3 separate regions of the Homo sapiens genome follow, and all the other regions are linked to region 3. The links are contacts of gene promoters, found by promoter capture Hi-C in blood cells and fetal thymus (Javierre and others, 2016). All regions are on one chromosome and are shown on one strand. Each heading gives the region's core, a stretch centred on a gene start or on the middle of the fragment in contact. The rest is flanking DNA. Distances are from core to core; before and after follow the strand shown. Region 1 overlaps DNAJC1 (DnaJ heat shock protein family (Hsp40) member C1). Region 2 overlaps DNAJC1 (DnaJ heat shock protein family (Hsp40) member C1). Region 3 holds the start of MLLT10 (MLLT10 histone lysine methyltransferase DOT1L cofactor).

Evidence for each region. Contacts are between HindIII fragments. The CHiCAGO score rates a contact against its expected background, and 5 or more counts as called.
Region 1: a contact is called between a fragment that was not itself captured here and the fragment with the promoter of MLLT10 in region 3, in 7 of 17 cell types (non-activated CD4 T cells, naive CD4 T cells, erythroblasts and 4 more). The highest score is 8.0, in non-activated CD4 T cells.
Region 2: a fragment that was not itself captured here is called in contact with the fragment with the promoter of MLLT10 in region 3 in 1 of 17 cell types (endothelial precursors); the score reaches 6.7 in endothelial precursors.

The regions. Positions count from the first base shown.
Region 1 is chr10:21,957,215-21,960,012 of GRCh38, reverse strand. All of the region lies in intron 1 of DNAJC1 (DnaJ heat shock protein family (Hsp40) member C1), which reads left to right. Among named protein-coding and RNA genes, the nearest start is that of DNAJC1, 45 kb to the left of the region's middle. The HindIII fragment of the contact is 7,617 bases long and covers 1-2,798 here.
Region 2 is chr10:21,927,257-21,930,043 of GRCh38, reverse strand. It overlaps DNAJC1 (DnaJ heat shock protein family (Hsp40) member C1), which reads left to right. Exons shown (of 12, transcript NM_022365.4): 2 at 903-1,004; 3 at 1,492-1,538. Among named protein-coding and RNA genes, the nearest start is that of DNAJC1, 75 kb to the left of the region's middle. The HindIII fragment of the contact is 801 bases long and covers 944-1,744 here.
Region 3 is chr10:21,532,847-21,535,834 of GRCh38, reverse strand. It overlaps MLLT10 (MLLT10 histone lysine methyltransferase DOT1L cofactor), which reads right to left and starts at 1,603. Exons shown (of 23, transcript NM_001195626.3): 1 at 1,315-1,603; 2 at 1,031-1,190. The coding sequence starts at 1,190. RefSeq lists enhancers at 1-605, 1,321-2,034 and silencers at 666-755, 896-1,235, 1,346-1,415, 1,426-1,955. The HindIII fragment of the contact is 10,036 bases long and covers 1-2,988 here.

The DNA.
Region 1 (2,798 bases), core at 209-2,708, 420 kb before region 3:
GTAATGGTAAGGGTGTTAGTATTCAGATTCTGAGTATGCTTTTGATAGTAGACCCAACAAGACTTATTAATGAATTGAATGTGGACTGTGAGAGAAAGAGGAGTCAAAAGTGACACCAAAATTTTTGGGAGATGGAGTTACATTTGGAGATAACATTACAGATTTTAGGAGATCTGTATAAAATGGATTTCTCTCTTCTTTTTTTTTTTTTTGTTTTTGTTTTTTTTGAGATGGAGTCTCCCTCTGTCGCCTAGGCTGAAGTGAAGCGGCACTATCCCGGCTCACTGCAACCTCTGCCTCCCAGGTCCAAGTGATTCTCCTGCCTTGGCCTCCCGGGTAGCTGGGACTACAGGCACCTGCCACCAAGCTCAGCTCATTTTTGTATTTTCAGTAGAGACAGAGTTTCACCATTTTGGCCAGGCTGGTCTCAAACTCCTGACCTCAGGTGATCTGCATGGCTTCCCAAAGTGCTGGGATCACAGGCATGAGCCACAGTGCTTGGCCGGATTTCTCATCAGTGTTTTAAAAATGTATTCCACATTCAGGAGAAACTAAAACATCTCGAGGATATAATATGTTCAGTGTGGCTGGGCGCAGTAGCTCATACCTGTACTCCTAGCACTTTGGGAGGCTGAGGCAGGCAGATCACTTGAGGTCAGGAGTTCAAAACCAGCCTGGCCAACATGGTGAAACCCCGTCTCTATTAAAAATACAAAAAAAATTAGCCGGGCCTGGTGGCAGACACCTGTAATCCCAGCTACTCAGGAGGCTAAGGCAAGAGAATTGCTTGAACCCGGAAGGCAGAGGTTGCAGCAAGCCAAGGTCTCACCACTGCATCCTAGCCTAGGTAACCGAGCGAGACTCCATCTCAGAAAAAAAGAAAAAAGTTCAGTATGTTGGATTTCTTGGTGTTTTGTTTTCCTGTTAAACTATCAGGATATTTAGTGGAGTTGAACTAGAAAGGCCAATTCCTCATACCTTCCATGCATTCTGTACTGAGAAACCGGGCTGTTGAGAGTAAAGATTGTTAAATATTAAAAGAGCATAAACTGGTAAAAGGAAGAGAAGGAAGGGTAGGAAGTAAAGAAGGAGAAGGAGCTCTGTTATATTCAAAATGTTCTTACCAAATGAACAAAGCATGTTAATAACTTTTAGAAAGAAGTTCAACAGCAAAATTTTTCTGCAAAAAAAATAGTGATTTTTTTTTCTGCCAAATCTGACGTTTAAATATATCAGAAAAACCTCATCCCTTCCATTTATATGAAATGCCTAGAAAAGGCAAATCTGGGCCAGGCGCGGTGGCTCACTCCTGTAATCCCAGCACTTTGGGAGGCCGAGGCAGGTGGATCACGAGGTGAGGAGATCGAGACTGTCCTGGCTAACACGGTGAAACCCCGTCTCTACTAAAAATACGAAAAATTAGCTGGGCGTGGTGGCACGCACTGTAGTCCTAGCTACTGAGAAGGCTGAGGAAGGAGAATCGCTTGAGCCCAGGAGGCGGAGGTTGCAGTGACCGAGATCGCGCCACTGCACTCCAGCCTGGGCAACAGAACGAGACTCCGTCTCAAAAAAAAAAAAAAAGACAAATCTGTGGAGACAGGTACAAGGAATCTTTTTGGGTTGATGGAAATATTCTAAAACTAGATTATCGTGATGTTGCAGAACTATATAAATGTACTAAAAATCACTAAACACTTAAAACAGGTGACTCTTATGGTTTGTAAATTATACTTAAATAAAGCTGTTAAAAATACATAAATACCAGAAAGAAAGAAAAAAACCTTCATTTCTCAATCATTTGGATTAAAATTTTATTAGTATTATATGGAGAAATTTTGGTTGAACTTTTTAACTCCATTATAGTTTTAGTTTCAGGTTTCTACTTATATGTTTCTGTTTTAAAATAGTATATATTTAATACAATGGTATTCTCAATTATATGCTTCTAATAAAAAGCCAAATCCTTGGTAAAACCAGTGTTAGGTAGCATATCTTATATGAAACTGAATATTACAGTAAAGCCCAGTAGAGAAATATGTGAATGGACAGAAGCAGGTATTATGAGCCTGTTTTAATATAAGAAAGGTATTTTGCTTAATAATAGTACATTAAGTTTGCCGTCACTTAATGTACCATCACTTAAAGAAAGTGGAACATTTCTACATGTACACATATATGAAAGTAAGCACATTTTTAAAAAAATATTGAGAAGTATATGTACCAAACTGATGATAATTACTTCTGTTGAGAGAATGAGGCTTTGAAGAAGAATGTATGTATTTATTTATTCATGTGTTACTTGTGTAATTGACAGAAAGCAAAGTATAAAGAGACTAAATAACTGAAAAGGAAAAAAGATGAGTAAAGCCTAAATAATGGCCGTGGTGATAGAGAAGAAAGTAAACACATGAAAAATGTTTAGTTGCCAATTTGATATAGTACAGAACTATTGCAAAGATCAAATATGAATGGGTAAGTAGATTATACTAAATTAACTCAGTGGAGCTATAACATTACTTGACCATAAACATAAACATTACTTTATTAAATTTATGAAGTAAAATGGAAACTTTTATATATACTGACAAAAGGAAGGTACAATATAATATGTACAATTTATTTACAGCAGTAAAAACAAATAGGATAATAGAGGAAAAGAATTAAGATGACAATGAAAGTATTAATGATAAAGTTAAGTGAATAGAGGAGGCTTTATTCTTCCATGCTTTCTTTAAAGGGTTTCTGAATAATCAGAAATAAGAAACAGTGCTATAATCAGGGATTGGCAAAATACATAT
Region 2 (2,787 bases), core at 95-2,594, 390 kb before region 3:
AGATTGTGCCGCCGCACTCCAGCCTGGGTGGTAGAATCAGACTGTCTCAAAAAAAGTTTTAAACCCTACTTGACAGTGTATTCTTTGTTATTATTATGCATTTTATACTGGCCATGTAAAAATGATGTTGTCTGATTTTACCTGTGCACACAGGATTATATAAAATGTAATTTTAATATCCACTTAATCTAAGTACTGAACCACGGTAACCTTTTAAATATATTTAAACTATACAAGTAATACATAAATATTGGGCAAATTTATTTGTATGAACCAGACTGAGGAGGCTGGCCAACATTGAAAATACCCTTTAAAGTACTAAGTAAATAAGTATAGTATATTTAACTCTTTCTAATGATAATAATTTTTGATAAATGCTAATTTAACTCCCTTCAGATAGGCATGCTTTTTGACATGTGAAAGTGAGATTCCATAGGTTGTTGCTGAGATGATAAACTCAATATAAATAATAGAGAAACCATATGGTTAGCCCGGGATTCAGAAATTGGCTTTAACATTTGCCAGTAAATAAAGAGTTTCTTTGAAGGCACACCGATGTATTAATTTTTAATTTGTTTCTTTTTGATCTCTTAATTACTGAAAAAGATTTATTGGTTAATTTTAGGAAGGCAAGTGTTTGAAAAGTTTCGCCAAATACTGTCTTCTTTAAATGACTGTATGGTAATGAAAAGTTAAGAGGAGAGCCAAATTAGATTGAATAATTGTTCAGTCATGTGGGTCAGGCTTGTTGCATAGCCTGGTTGTTAAGACTGATTGCTCAAATTACATTGCCTGGGGTCCTGCACTTGGTTGGCTGTCTTCTCAGATCTTAACAAGGTTCTGGGAATTTCTTTTTCTGACAAAGTTTGCTTTGTATTTTCCCCTCCCCCTACCACCTCCAGGATGCATCATCTGCAGACATCAGAAAAGCATATCGTAAGCTTTCACTAACTTTACATCCAGACAAGAATAAAGATGAAAATGCAGAAACTCAGTTTAGACAAGTAAGTGAAATATGCTATTATATATATATTTTGTGACAAATGTATTAACATGTCGATGGTAGAAATATTCACTTATATATGGAATATTTTCATTTGAAAATGAGGTAGTAGTTTAAAATATAGTGTATATTTTTTTTCAAGTTTCTACAAAATGCATTTTTACTATTTTGTATTAGCATCTCTAAATTCTTGGAGGGTCATAATTGTCATAATTTTCTTGTCTAAATTACAGCTTTTGCTTCTAAATGCACATTTTAAGATAAGTATTACTTTTGTAACTGTCACAAAGATTTATTTTGATATCAAGCATTTTTAATCTCTTAAGGTACTACCAAAACATAGTGTTACTTATAAAGGAGATTTCATCTGTTTATTGTATATATAGGCACATAGGATTTTCTGCATGTGTATTGTAGTGCCTTCACCCTCCTATGTGATTTCTTATAGTTGAGAGTATTTTTATTTTAAAGTAATGCTTTTATTTTAGTTGGTGGCCATTTATGAAGTTTTAAAGGATGATGAACGAAGGCAGAGGTGAGTGTTCATTTCTGCTTTTGAATTAAGATGTTATAGTTTCATGCTACAGTTTATAAAGAATTAAGTCTTCTTAAACATTTTATTATTATGTTAGCATTTTATTTTTGTTCCTTCCGAGAAATGCAGTGTTTTAAAAATGTGTGTTTGAAGCAGAGTTAATTTTATTGAAAGTATTCACTAGATTGATTTGATACATACAAGCTTCAGGATTTTGAGTCATAATGTTAGCAAGTCCGGGCTTCCTTAATACGACTTTTAACATGAGTGTTTATGCCCTGGGAGATACAAATACTGCCTGAATTCAAATAAATGTCCATTCCTTCCCATATGTCAGTAATAGCTCCTATCTGTGCCTGATGCTTGGTGCTTTTCCCCCCCATTCCTTAAATGTTTGAATTAGACTGTAGTGATAGTCAAGTTAGTACTCTTTCTTGATATTTCCTCACTCTCAGAATAACCCAGTTATATAAGCTTCTGTAAGCCTGTAGAAGAAAGAAAACTTTGCCTCTTGCATCTATTTCTTTTGCCTCCTTCCCTTCCTTTACTCTGCTCCGGCAATTCTGCATTCAGGGTTAAACTTCAGAGTGGAGGTAGCCCCTCACTCTAAGACTTCTCTGTGCCCCTTTCAGAAGACTGGCAATATATTTATGTAGTAGTTTATAATGCCAGTGACTTAAGAGGAGATTACACAGAGGCCCCTTTCCTCTACTCCTACAGAATGTATGGAATGTAGACATCATTTCAGCAGCCTTCTAAGTTTTTTAAGTCAGACCACAACACATACGCACACACACACACATAACTAAAACAATAGTTTCACAAGATATTTCTTATTGCATGTTAAACACATTATTTTCTATTCTAGGCTAGACTAGTCTTTTGGTGTTTTTTATTTATTTATTTTTTAAAAATGTTGGTTGTGGTTCACTAAATTCATTTCATGAGACACTAGTGGACCACAATCCAAAATTTGAAAATGTTCTACGATACAAGAGTACCTGTAAAAAACAAAACAAAACAACACCTGGCTATTTGACATTTAGGCAAAAGCCAGCCTAAATATCTGTGTCCTTCACTAGGGGGGTAATACATCTCCAGACAACCCTATAAATTGTGCTATGTTACATTCTGAATCTTTCCTCAAATGTATTATCTGGAATTAGTCTGTATCCTAAAATGTTAGCTACCATTCTTGATTCTCATCTTAACCGTTTAATTTGAATACCTCTGCTTGTCAGATTGCAAA
Region 3 (2,988 bases), core at 354-2,853:
CTCTACAAAATGCACTTTAGCAGATGTTCAAATTTTCGTCTCCCTTTTGGTGGTAGTCCTTTCCAACAGACTACTAAAAACATATGCATCGCTTAATGCCAGATTCAGAAATGCGAAGGGACATGGAGCCACCAAAAAAGAATATAGACTGTTTTGTCCTGGATTCCTTACCACGTGAAATGGGGAAAAGTCGGCCACTTCAAAGGCCAGAAAAGTATCTTACTAGTGTCCTCGGCCTTCTTGTATATCCAAAAACCTCATCAATTGTTAACAACCAGAAATAAACTAAGAGGCTCCCCAAAAGTGACTTGGCACCGCCACCTCTTCAGCCACCTAGGCTGGTGGTGGCCTGCCGCGGCCACCCCACAGGCGCTGCAGCAGCCCCGCCACTCCCGCATGGTCAGCAACGGACTCCGCCATCTCCTCCGCAGACAGCTACCGGGCGGCGGCGGCAGGGCCCGAGCCTTCTGGCTCGGGGTGCAACGGGCCCCGCATCCCTCCCCATCTAAAGAGGCAAGGCGACCCCCAGCCTCCCCACACTGGCGCCGCGTTCCCGAGCCCGTCTCCACGCCACAGGAAGTCTCCAAACACTGCGGCAGACAGGCGGCTGCAGGCCAGGGGAGAAGAGGGCGCTCCACTCTCCCAAACCCACCCCCGTGGCCCCGGGAACCCCGGGAAGGGCGCGCACCGCCCCCGCCCCCGCCCCCGCCCCCACCCCGGCCCAGATCTCGAGGGCGCGGCCGCCGCCCTGCCCCGCCCCGCCCCGCCGAGTCAGCAGACCCCGGCCCCAGGCGCAGGCGGCGGCCGAATGACACTTGAGAGAGTGAGAGCGGAATCACATGACAGTCCGGGCCACACGCACTTTCTCCCACATGCGCGGCCCACACCCCCCGCGCCCCGCCGCGGACCCTCCGCGTCCCTCCCGCGGCCGCGGCACGGGGCGGGGGCGCCGGCGGTTGCGGCCCAGGTGGGGGCGGCGGTGACCGTTGGGCGCAGGCCGGCGCGCCCCGGCGGGCGGTTGGGTGTTTACCTTGATGCACCGCGACGCTGCAGCCGTGCCCGTCGCAATAAACCAGCGGGTTCTCGGCCCAGCCTCTCTCGTCTGAGCAAACGCAACAGCCTCCAATCATCTCCTTCATACTATGGGAGACCTCGTCCTCCAGTGACACGGGCCGGTCGCTAGAGACCATCTAAGAGGGAGTTGGGGGGACCATTAAAAAACACATGCAAGCCGATTAGTGCTTCCCCCCCACACAGCCCCCCGAGCCCGCCCCGGCGCCCCCCGCCCGGCCCGGCAGCCCACCGCTCGCTCACTCGGGCTTTGCCGCTCAGTCACTCACGTTCCGCACAGGAGTCAGGAGCCATGTCCTTGCTGATTCCCCCCACCTCCCCTCCACCGCCTCCTCCGCCTCCTCCTCCTCCTCAGCGTCTTCCCTCCCCACCTCCACCCGGCCGCTAACGCGGGCGCCCGGAGAGGGCACACATAATCAAGAGGGCCTCCGCACAGGCGCACTGGGGGGAGGGGGGGCTCCCGCTGGGCCAGGGGCAGCGAGGGAGGGGAAGGGGGCTGCGCTTCCTCCTCGGAGCGTCACTTGGCGTGCGCGCCCGTCCTGCGGCCGGCGTGAGGGAGGAGGCCTGGGCGAGGCTAGCCCTGCGTGCGCGCTGCCGCGGCCTGTTGGCTGCCCCCGGCCTACCTCCGGGGCCCCGTCCCCCTCCCCCGCGCCGCTCGCCGCCGCCGAGGTGTGCTGGGGGTGGGCGCGAGGGGAGCCGGCGGCGCGCGGAGGCCGGAATGAACGGGCGCGGGGGCGCGCACGCGGGGGCGGGGACGTTAGGGCCGCCCTCTGCAGCGCTGGTGGCGCGGGCCGCGTGTGAGCGTCGGGAAGAGGCCTGGGAGGTGGCGGGGGAGGTGGACGCCCAGGGCTGGGAAGGGGTTTTCTCAGAATCGCCAGAGGGGAGTCCCCGGGGGCATCATCTCCGTGCCCTGGGAACCTACCTGCTGGCCTTTTCCTCCAAGACTGGCCCGTGGAAAACGAGGGTGGGGCGAGTGTGCCAGCTTCCATGAAGGGTGTAATGAAGCATGGCTTCCTGCAGTTGGCCGCGCTAACTTCACAGTGCTGCCGCAGCCACTCCACCCATTAAATTCACGTCCTGGACTCTTCCCAAAGTTCACCCGCTGGAAGTCCTACCAAATCTGCCGCCCATTTTCGCACTACGTGGGCCCCAATGACAAACGAAAGTGTATTCCAGGCTGAAGGTCAAAAGCCTGTGTTAGGGCTGCACTCGGAGAGGGAACGCCAAGGCGCCCCTCAGCTCGGTGTGCAGGACAAATGGTGGTTTATCCGGAATTAGCAATATAATACGATGATCCGGAAAATGCAGTTGTATTACACCAAAAGGAAGAAGGAACTCTAGCCCTCCTAGTCAGTCGCTAAAACATAATTAACGCCATCAGACAGTGGCGTCCAGTTTTGATGGAGGATTCCTCTGATCCGGGTCTTTTCTCCAAATTTATACTTGGAAATGTGAGGTCATTTAAAAGTGGCAGAAAGATGAGAGCTCCCACCTCACAAACAAATGGAAAATGGATTAGGCCTATCTGCATAGATTAATTAGCTGGATGCTGAGCACTTTTAAACTAAAATCTTCCACTGTCTGCCTATTCCTTATGCATCCGTAAAGCCCAATATTGATGTTTAAGCAAAAAATGTCTAATTAGAAAAGTTTCGCATGAAATCAGAATTATGCATAGATTGTTTAAATGACAAGCCCAGTTAAAAGGCGAATTCATGACTTTTGATTAATACCTTGCAGGTACAAAATGGTTCTTTATCAGCAATTCGCATTATAAATGTGCTGATCTGGAAGATGCACTTTCACAGTGCTAAAGCATAGAGAACCCAAGTTCTCCTAGTCGGTCGCCAAAAGATAATATAATGGTTTGGGCTTTAAAAGCCTTCTAAATGTTCTTCTGATAAAGGGGGGTTAGAA